2 separate regions of the Homo sapiens genome follow, and region 2 is linked to region 1. Evidence: promoter capture Hi-C in human tissues and cell types (Jung and others, 2019). All regions are on one chromosome and are shown on one strand. The core of a region is centred on a gene start or on the middle of the fragment in contact, and the rest is flanking DNA. Distances in the headings are between cores, read along the strand shown.

What was found. Contacts are between HindIII fragments. The study calls those that stand out against the background at their distance.
Region 2: a fragment that was not itself captured here is called in contact with the fragment with the promoter of TTC7B in region 1 in 1 of the 25 tissues and cell types used here (dorsolateral prefrontal cortex).

What each region holds. Positions count from the first base shown.
Region 1 is chr14:90,813,781-90,818,737 of GRCh38, forward strand. TTC7B (tetratricopeptide repeat domain 7B) reads right to left here and starts at 2,650. Exons shown (of 20, transcript NM_001010854.2): 1 at 2,395-2,650. The coding sequence starts at 2,515. RefSeq lists a silencer at 2,644-2,823. The HindIII fragment of the contact is 18,929 bases long and covers 1-4,957 here.
Region 2 is chr14:89,964,929-89,969,702 of GRCh38, forward strand. TDP1 (tyrosyl-DNA phosphodiesterase 1) reads left to right here. Exons shown (of 17, transcript NM_018319.4): 4 at 1,219-1,262; 5 at 2,439-2,494. Among named protein-coding and RNA genes, the nearest start is that of TDP1, 11 kb to the left of the region's middle. The HindIII fragment of the contact is 9,557 bases long and covers 1-4,774 here.

The DNA.
Region 1 (4,957 bases), core at 1,400-3,899:
GGATTTTGCAAAATCTGCCCAGAACTTGTGCTCATGCACCCGAGAATCTATGGGGGAGCCGGTGCCCCCAAAAGCCAGGAAGAAGTCCCTCTACCAGCCCGAGAGTGGGAAGGCCTCACCAGTCAAACGGAGGGAAGGCCCCTCTTGCAAACACCAAAGGAGAGCCACAATCATTCTAGTTTAGTTTCATCTTTTTCTTGGCTTCATCGTTTTATTTTCCTGAGCACTCACTCTGTCTGATCTTTTCAAGTCCGGGTAACTTTTTGCCATCAATGGCTACCACTCACCATGTGAGTCTCTAGGACAAAAATCTATGTCCCATGAGTTTCCCCAAACTGAACTTGCACACAGACCCATGGACCACAGTGCCCCCGCAAACCCCGATCCCCAAGCCCCACTCATGACTGCATCTTAGGACATTGGGAGCAGCCCCTGGGAAGAGAGCTAAGCCTTTCGGGGGCCATGAAGGTGAATAGGAAGGGCCCAGGCCACCAAAAACCCATCTACCCTCTCATTCCAGGGACCATCATAGCTTGAGTCCCCCTTCATCTGCCTGTCATTCTCAATCACATTAACTCATCTGTTTTGTTTCAATCACTTCTCACTATCTGAAGCTGTGCTGTTTATTTATTTCCATATTTGCTTATCACCTGCCTCCTGAGAGCAGGGTGAGGGCATAAGGGCAGGGGCTTGGTCAGTGCTGTTCACCACTGTTCTGTGACTGGCACAGGTGGGCACGCAAATATTGGGTGAATGAATAAGCAAAGACAGCAGGAAACAAGTGGATTCAGAAGAAAAAAGACCAGGAGGCTCACAAATAAACCCATTTAATCCTAAAATCAACCTGCACAGAAGGTGTCATTATGCCTACACCGCTGGGAAGCCACAAAGTAGACCCAGGACTGTGCAACTCCGAGAGGAAAAGAGAAAATGCTGCAGGTAAGCGGAGAAGCAGGTGAGCCCGACACGGAGGGCAAAGGCAAGCTGCCTCTGGGGCCCAGGGCACTGAACACCATCTCCTCAAAGGCTGACATAACTGAGAAGGGTCCACATTTTCCACCAAGTGGAGCCCGTGTAGGGTCGGTGCTATCTCCATGCCCCTGACACACCATGGCACCTGCGTTCACCCAGAAGGTACCTGCCCACAGCATGCATCCATCATTGAGAGTGCGCAAAACCAAGTTCTAATTTCCAGGCACTAATACCATAGGACACAAACATAAACCACCCTCCAGGAGGACACCTGACATCCCTCTCCTTTCTGGGTAGTCTGAAGTGAGAAGGTTGAAAATAGTGCAGATGTCCTTTCTTAGAGCAGCCCCGCCATCCATTCATTCACTCTTTCATTCATTTGTTCAGCCAACATGTGCTCACTGGGCCTGGGGAAGCCCAGGATGAAATGAGACAAACCCTCTGCCCTCTGGCCACGGTGTGCTGGTGCCTGCGCTTTAGGCGGGTACTAAAAGACAAGCAAATATTAAAGATACTCGCTTCCAAAACAAATAAGGCCACGTGGAGCTGTGCACTGGAATGGGATTCTGGATGCAATTTTATTTGATTGGGTACAAGAACCAATCCAGTTAAAGGGGTCATGAACCAACTCCAGGCACCAGGCTCCTACTCAGAGGCTGCCTCAGACCCCCTTCTGGCCCAGGCACCAACCCCTCACCCACCCAACTCCATCTCCCGACATTCTTCAACCACATTCCCATCTCGCTCCACAATATTCTCCCTCCAGGTCCCCCTGACTCTATTTCTCCTCTATTCCCAACCCTGACCTCTCTAGGTCGGCAGCCTTGATGCTACTTCTCCGAACGCCAGGACGCACATCCCAGCCTGCTTTCTACCACCACCCCACACACCTCGAGTCTGCGCTTCCACCCAGAACCCCTTAAACACCATATGTTTACAAACCAGATTCCCCAGGGGTCTATGTACAACACCCCATTCTCAAGACCCCATAAACACATCCTGATTCCCTGAGCACACCATACACACACTGTGGACTTCACCCATGTCCTGAGGGACCCCCTCACCCCATCACCTCCAACTTCTTGGAAGCCCCAGGCCGGCCCCTGACCTCCTGTGGTCCCAGTGGAGCAGCGGACTCGCTGAGACCCCCGGACACCCCAGACTCCGCAGAAGCCCGCCCTGCACGCTTGAACCCCAGGCGCCGGGACAGCCCCTGGCGCCCCCCCGGGCCCCCACACCGCGTGACTCCGGGGCACCCGGGCTCCCCCAGGCCCCGGTCCCGCGCACATCCCCTGGGCCGCAGCTCCCTCGCGGCCCGGCCGCGCCCCTGCCCGCGCCCCGCGCCCGGCCGCGCCTCGGGGGCCCGTTCCCGCGGAGGCCGCGGCGCCCCCCGCAGCCCAGGCCGGCGCGCCCGGAGCGTACCGTTGGCGATGAGCTTGGCCGACAGCTGCTTGACGAGCTCAGGGATCCGCTCCCACTGGCACTCGGAGCGGCAGCGCTCGATCTCCGTCTCCAGCCGCGAGCCTGCCTTCTTGGTCGCCATCGCGGCCTGGCCGGGCCCGGCCGCCCGCCCCGCAGGCCCCACCGCCGCCGCCGCGGCGCCCCCTCGCCGCCTCCCGCCGCCGCCGCGGGCTCGGGCTCCGGCTCCCGGCTCCGCGGCGTAACGGGAGCGCCGGCTGGGGAAGGGGCGGGGAGGCGGGCGGCGGCGGCGGGCGCGGCGGGGCCCCGGGCGCCGCGAGGAGCGGCCCCTGCCGGCCAGGGCCGGAGCCGCAGCACTGACCGGGGCCGGAGCCAGGGCTGGGGCAGGGGCGGGGGCTAGGGCGGGAGACAGGGGCCCGAGGGAGGAAAGGCGGGGTGGGCATGGAGGACAGGGAGAGGGACTGGGGGTGTCTGGGGCGGGGTGAAGACCGAGGGGAAGTGGGGATGGGGGTGGGGGAGCGGGGTAGGAGAGAGATCTGACCAAGGGCGGGTGAGGGGTCTGGTGGGGTAGGGGTCTGGGCAGGATGAAGGGGAGGGAGAGGATCGGGAGGGAGCTAGCGACAGCCTGGGAGCGGGTTGGATCCCCAGGAGTAGGGCCAAGAAAGGGCAGTGACCCTGGGGAAGGTCACCGCCCGGTGGGACCAGTGAGCCAGGTGTGAGGGGTGGGGGGAGGCCTGCCCGAGTTTGTCCTGCCATCTCAGGTGGCCAGCGGTTCCCTGGGGCCCGGTTGGCCTGTGCCCCTTAGCAGATGCCCCTCTGCCCCGCAGCCTTAGCCCCTACCCAGCCAGAGGTGGACGGAGACTCCTCCATCCCAGGCAAGGCACAGCACCTGCCAGGGGTGCCCTAGATGGCTGAGCGGAGCCAGGCAGGGGCTGCCACTCTCACACGCCAGCTCTCGGACCCCCTGAGGGGAAGGCACAGTCACTGGTGGGGCCTCCTGTCTTGGCCACCTAGACTGAGACCTAGGGAGGTGTCCCTCTGTGTTCTCTCAGTGAATCAACTGTCTAGTGATCACCTACTATGTGCTGGGCGCTGCTTTAGGTGCCAGAGATAGAATTGTGAGCTAAAAAAACAAAATTCCTGGCTTGAGAGAGCTTACATTCCAGTTTGGGGGAAAAATAAGCAAAATAAAATAGTAAACTAGACTGTAAAAATGGCTATTTGAAGAAACAGGGAAGGGTTCAGTGAGGAACATAAAGAGTTGGGACAGGCGGGTGGCTCATGCCTGTAATCCCAGCTACTCAGGAGGCTGAGGCAGGATGATTGCTTGAGCCCAGAAGGTGGAGGCTGCAGTGAGCAGTGAACGCACTTCAGCCTGAGCAAGTGTTGCCATTTAAAATGGAGCAGTCAGGGATGGCCTCACGGAGGTGGCATTAGACTTGAAGAAACTAAGGGGGAGCCATGAGGATATCTCTGGGGGAGGAGTATCCCAGGCAGAGAACACCACAAGTGCGAAGGCTCTGGGGTTAGAGCACACTGGGTGGGATGGAGAAATGGCAGAGGCCAGAGGGGCTGGGTGGAGCGAAGGAGAGGGGCCGAGGCAGGAGATGAACTCTGAGAGGTTGGGGGGAGTTCTGTGTAGTGCCTGGTGGGCCATTATAAGACCTTGGCTTTTGGCTGGGCACGGTGGCTCACGCCTGTAATCCCAGCACTTTGGGAGGCCGAGGTGGGCGGATCACGAGGTCAGAAGATCGAGACCGTCCTAGCTAACATGGTGAAACCCGTCTCTACTAAAAATATTTTTAAAAATTAGCCGGGCGTGGTGGCAGGCGCCTGTAGTCCCAGCTGCTGGGGAGGCTGAGGCAGGAGAATGGTGTGAACCCGGGAGGCGGAGTTTGCAGTGAGCTGAGATGGCAGCACTGCACTCCAGCCTGGGCAACAGAGAGAGACTCCGTCTCAAAAAAAAAAAAAAAAACTTTGACTTTTACTCTGGTGACATGGAGCAGCCCTGCAGGGCTTTTCACGGAAGAGTGGCATGATCAGACCTACACTTTGGACTATCACTGTGACTGCAGTGTTGAGAATACTGCCAGGGAAATAGCTGTGGTGGTGGCAGTGTTGGATTCTGGGTCCTGCATTTGAGAGTGAAGCGGTCAGTCTGGAAGGTTCCGTAGCCCGCCCGCAGTCACAAGGAGGCACTGAGGGGTCGTCGTCATTCCTTCTGGGTGCCCTTACTCCAACTTTCCAAGAGCAGTCACACGCAGGTTCTTATCCCCACCACAACTCCCCCACCACCGGAGTTGATGAAGAACACACACTGTGGACCTCAGTTTACCAATGAGGAGGCTGAATCACAGACATTTAAGAGAGGTGAGGAGGAAAGATAAGGAGATGTGTTCTGATGTGACCAGTATCACTTTCAGGTGCCTCAGGGACTGCCAAGGTGATGGAAGTTGAGCTGACAGGCCCTGGACACTGTGAACAGCCCAGGGAAAGGGGAACTAGAACGTTAGAGTTTCAACAGGGGACCCTTTAGTGCCCTGGCCCTTAGCTCCCACCAAGAGGG
Region 2 (4,774 bases), core at 1,729-4,228, 850 kb before region 1:
CGTAGAGCTGGTAATGACATTCTGGCATCAGAATCCATGCTGTTTGCTATAGCACTCTACCATGTGCCATAATTGTAGATGGCTTAGAAGATCTCATGGAGGAAGGGGGACTTCAAAAGGCCTTTGAAAGATGGGTAAAATTTAGAAGGGAAGAAATACATGCTGGTGGGGGCAAATGGAAGAATATTTGCAGTTTATCTCTGCAACTCTCCCAATAAGGTAGAACCTTCCTTAACAATTTTTTTGTTGTTGTTCTCTGAAAATCGTTCTACCCCAGCATCTAGCTCAATGTCCAGAAGATAGGAAGCACTCAGGAAATATTTGCCAAATGAATGAGCCAGTCTTAATTCTCAGAGGCAGTTTAGTGGGTATGAGCGAAGGTGCTGGAGCCAGACAGCCTAGGTTCAAACCCCGACTGTACCCCTTTCTAGCTGTGTGTCTGTGGGCAGCCTCCTAAGAAGGCTCCTCCGATATAAAATAGAAATAACAGACCCCACCTAGAAAATGGATATGAGGAGTAAGTAATGGATGGGAAGTGCCAAGAGTGCTGCCTGGCATCTAACAGGTCTCCACAGATGTGGCTGTTGTAATGGAAGGTCACGATGATGGTGTACTTGCTCTCGTGGTATGGTTTGAGAAGTGAGCTTTCAACTTACCTAACATAAAGCTTGAATGGGTACAAAGTGAGACTTCCCTAGAGATGACCAGGAACACCAGGAATGTGAGTTGATAATTGTGAGTGCCTCTGTCCTTTCATTCACAGGCCACAGGTGCTTTCCAGTCTTTCTGGAAAGTCTTTCTAAACTGTCCACATTTATAAAATCTTTCTAGAAAGTTTTTCTAGTCTTGAGTTGGGAGATTTCCTGGAGAGGGACTTGAATGGGTACTTGGAGGAGGTAGAAGTTCAGAGATCTGAAAAGAATATGTATCATTATTGTCCATATTGAGTTTCTAAACTTGATCAATCATTCAGTACTGAAGTTGTAGATTTTGGTTTTGCATTGTTTTATAAAAGAATGTATGATAAATATTAAATACCATAGGGAAATTTTTTTTGAATTTTATGAAACATTAAAGTCTGACTTTGTAGTAACTGTTTAGCTTACTGTGTTCTGAGTCAGATCTTGATTGTCAGTGACTGTTGAATGAGTTAGTAGTGATTATTATGACTAGAGGATTTTTGTGAGTGTGAATTTGATATATGTTTTGTCTTCTCAGATATTTTATCTCCTTTATTTGGGACGCTTGTTTCTTCAGCTCAGGTGAGTATACCTTTAAGCTGTTTTTTCTTTGGGTGAAAGTAGACAGGTAATTAAACAACTCCATAAGAAAATATGAGAGGCATAGTTTGGGGATCTCAGTCCTGTTCAAAGACTGAGATGGCACATACCTGGAGGCTGGCTCAAGTGCCACAGTAATGAGATCCATGGCCATCAACATAGAATGGGGATGTCACTATCAGGAGAGCATTTGACTCAAGTCAGCCTCCGCTGGCCAAGAAGTCACTTTGGACATTCCAGCTTGAAAGACTAGAATGGGACACTTCTTTTGGGGATACTGATTAACTCATGGGACTGAGTTAACTCTGGTGCATAGAGTGGTGAGGTATGGATAGAGTGGTGAAGGCCAAGTCAAGTTTGATTTAATTTAGAAAAATGTGAATTTTCATGTTCAGTGGCTCCTTCCTGACTGAGCTAGTCCCTTTGTCTTGATAAATCATGTAATGGTCCAGACCCACAAGTAAGTGGTCCAAAGGGCCCTGTCCCTGAAGAAAGGCAGGCTTCCTTTATGTTTGGTTTGGCATTGAAAGTCCTGGTTTCCATTTGGAAGGTGGGGAGCATTTGCAAATGCCCTGTTAGCTCGACTGAGTTACTAAGTCCAGGATTACCCAGGTATGGGGAGGAGCCTCCACGGGTAAGACCAGTACAGAACTTGCATTTAAGATGTAATTGTTAGAAGCCTAGTGAATGTCTGGTCCCAGGTGGCTGTGTACAAAGCTAGCTAATAAGTTAGCCTGAAAGGAAATGTTCTTTTCTGAAAGTCCTGGGATCTTTGTCTCCAGTATCTGTCTTTTTATAATCACCTAGGGGAAAAGGGATAAATTTATAAATCCTTTTATTTAAATTAATCTCAGGGCCATTAGACATAATGTAATAACACCCTGCGGACAAGTACAGATGCTGCCAAAACATGCAGAGATAATTTCCTGGGAACCTGTTATCTCATGTACTTGGCTCCATTTAGGTTCTTTTAACCATGCATTTAAGATAAATTATAGGTTTGTTAGTATTGCAGCATAACCCTCCAGGTTTATAAATAATACATGTAGTGTATCACTATTTTAGAGTTTCCTTAAATGTAATAACTAAACAATTCTCCTTATGAACTGTTTGGCAGAATTACCTATGGCTTAGTTACTCTTCTTTTCTCCCATCTAGTTTAACTACTGCTTTGACGTGGACTGGCTCGTAAAACAGTATCCACCAGAGTTCAGGTGAGTTCCTCAGGGTGACAGACAACACTATAAACTGTAAAGGGGCTTTGACACCTAAGATTTGTATTTCTCAGGTGAAAGCCACTCATCTTTTGAGTTTTTCTTTTGAAACTGTTGAAATCACACAGACATTAAGTTATATCCGGAAAACAGCATTCTTTGATCTATTTAATCCTACACATTCTTTTTACGGATTTTAGCATTTTCCTCTGTGCTCTTTCAGGAAGTAGATAAGGACAGGCTTTAACTCAAATAACAGAATTTCATGTCCAGTCTTAATATGAAGGAAAATACCATCTCCACATACCTTCTAGATCTGTGAATGTGCCAACATGCCGCCAACGTGCCATGCTTTCCGTAGCACATCAATTCTGTTCTGTTTTGAGGATCCCTTTGTGTTTCTGAGATGAGGAAAGGAGGCTTATCTGTGGCCTTCCCTTATCTAGGCTCTGGAGGTGATGGATTTTTAGGCCTTCTGCCTGCACTTCATCAGCCTCATGTTAGGCAATACAGACCAAATAGGGCATCACACAGGTGCCACCCTTCCCTATTTCTAACACATTTACGGGGCAGATTCCCATAACAGCAAGTAGGATGGAGGAAAACACACAAGAAATAATGATTGTCAGGGTCCTCAAAATTCTTGGTACATTTAGGGCATCAGATTGTGGAAACCTTTGACATTAACAGTAGATAAAATGCTGTTAAAATTTTTCAAGCAGCTTTGGCACTTGGGGCTTTTTTTTTTTTTTTTGACCTGTAACACACAGAATTAGTTTTAGCTGCATGTAAAAGAATATTCAAAATAACAATGGCTTAAATAAGACAAATTGTTTCCAGCGTGACACATTCAGATGGTAAACATTTATGGTCTAGATGGGGGCACCAGGGTTCTCAGAGACTTATCCACCTACCCTTTCTGTTCCACCATCCTTGTATGTGACTTCAGTTTTCAGAGTCACCTCGTGGCCCAGTATGGCAGCTAGAGCTCCAGCTTACTCATCTATTCCAGGTAGCAGGAAGGGGAAAGGAGGAAAAGGACAAAAAGGCCCACATTCTAGCTATGCCCATCTAAGCAGCCTTCCTGGAAGTCCCACACAACACCTGCATCTATTTCATTGAGCAGAGCTCAGCTGCATGCTAACCAGCTGTAAAAGAGGCTAGAAATGTCTTTTAGCTTAGCACACCTTTTCCTGAATTAGCCTTTTGTTAGGGAAGGAGGAGAGAATGGCTGTCTGGAGGCAACAAGCAGTTTCTGCCTTGGCTCCTCCTCGCAGTAGTATCCTTGGGTGTCACATTGGCATTTTCTGTTCTTCCTCCCTTTTCTTAAAGACCTTGAAATCAAACTGTCACCCCATTAGAGTGTTGGCAAAGTGCAGACTGCAGTTCCTTTGTATCTGTTATGAGTTAAATTATCTCACCCCCAAAAAAGATCTGTTGGAATCCTAAGCCTCAGTACCTCAGAATGTGATCTTATTTGGAGATAGAGCCCTTACAAAGGTAATCAAGATAAAATGAAGGCATTAGGATGGACATTAATCCAGTATGACTAGTGTCCTTATAAAAAGAGAAATTTGGGTGCAGAGACAGAGATAAGACCATGTAAAGACACAGAACGCCATTTACAAGCCAAGCTCCTAGAAGCTGGGAGAGAGGCTTGGAACAGATGTGCCTCACAGCCTCAGGAACCAATCCTGCCAGCACCTTGATCTTGGACTTCTCGCCTCCAGACCTGTGAGACAATATATTGCTGTTGTCTAAGCCTCCCAGTTTGTGGTGCTTTGTTTTGGAGGCCCTGGCACACTAATACAGTATCCACTGGACTCTCAGTAACTAAAGGGACGAAAGTGTCCTCCTTCTCCCTGCATCCCCTTATTGCCAAATGCATCTTGGGAAGGCTATTACGAGCCTTAGAAGGATGAGGAGTGACCTAAATGGTAAGTTTAAGTAACATCCAGAATTTGTATGTAGAAAAATTCAGATCATAAGGATTTATACCTCAGTATGCTATTGTTCAGGTGCCATCTTTTTGTAATAAGTCGTAGAACCAATAAATTTGAAAGAATTAATGAGGACTTCAGTTTCTATCAGTCATATTTAATCTTTTTAATAACATGACTTGATCTAACATTTTTTATTTCTAGGTGCTAGATGCACGTGTGTTTCTTACATTATTCTGTTTTTCTTACCTAATTTCTAAAAATCACAGGTGCGTGTTTCATAGTTTCATTTTACCTGTCATGTTAGAATAAAGCTATTGGGCAAGAGGTAGTGAGGTAT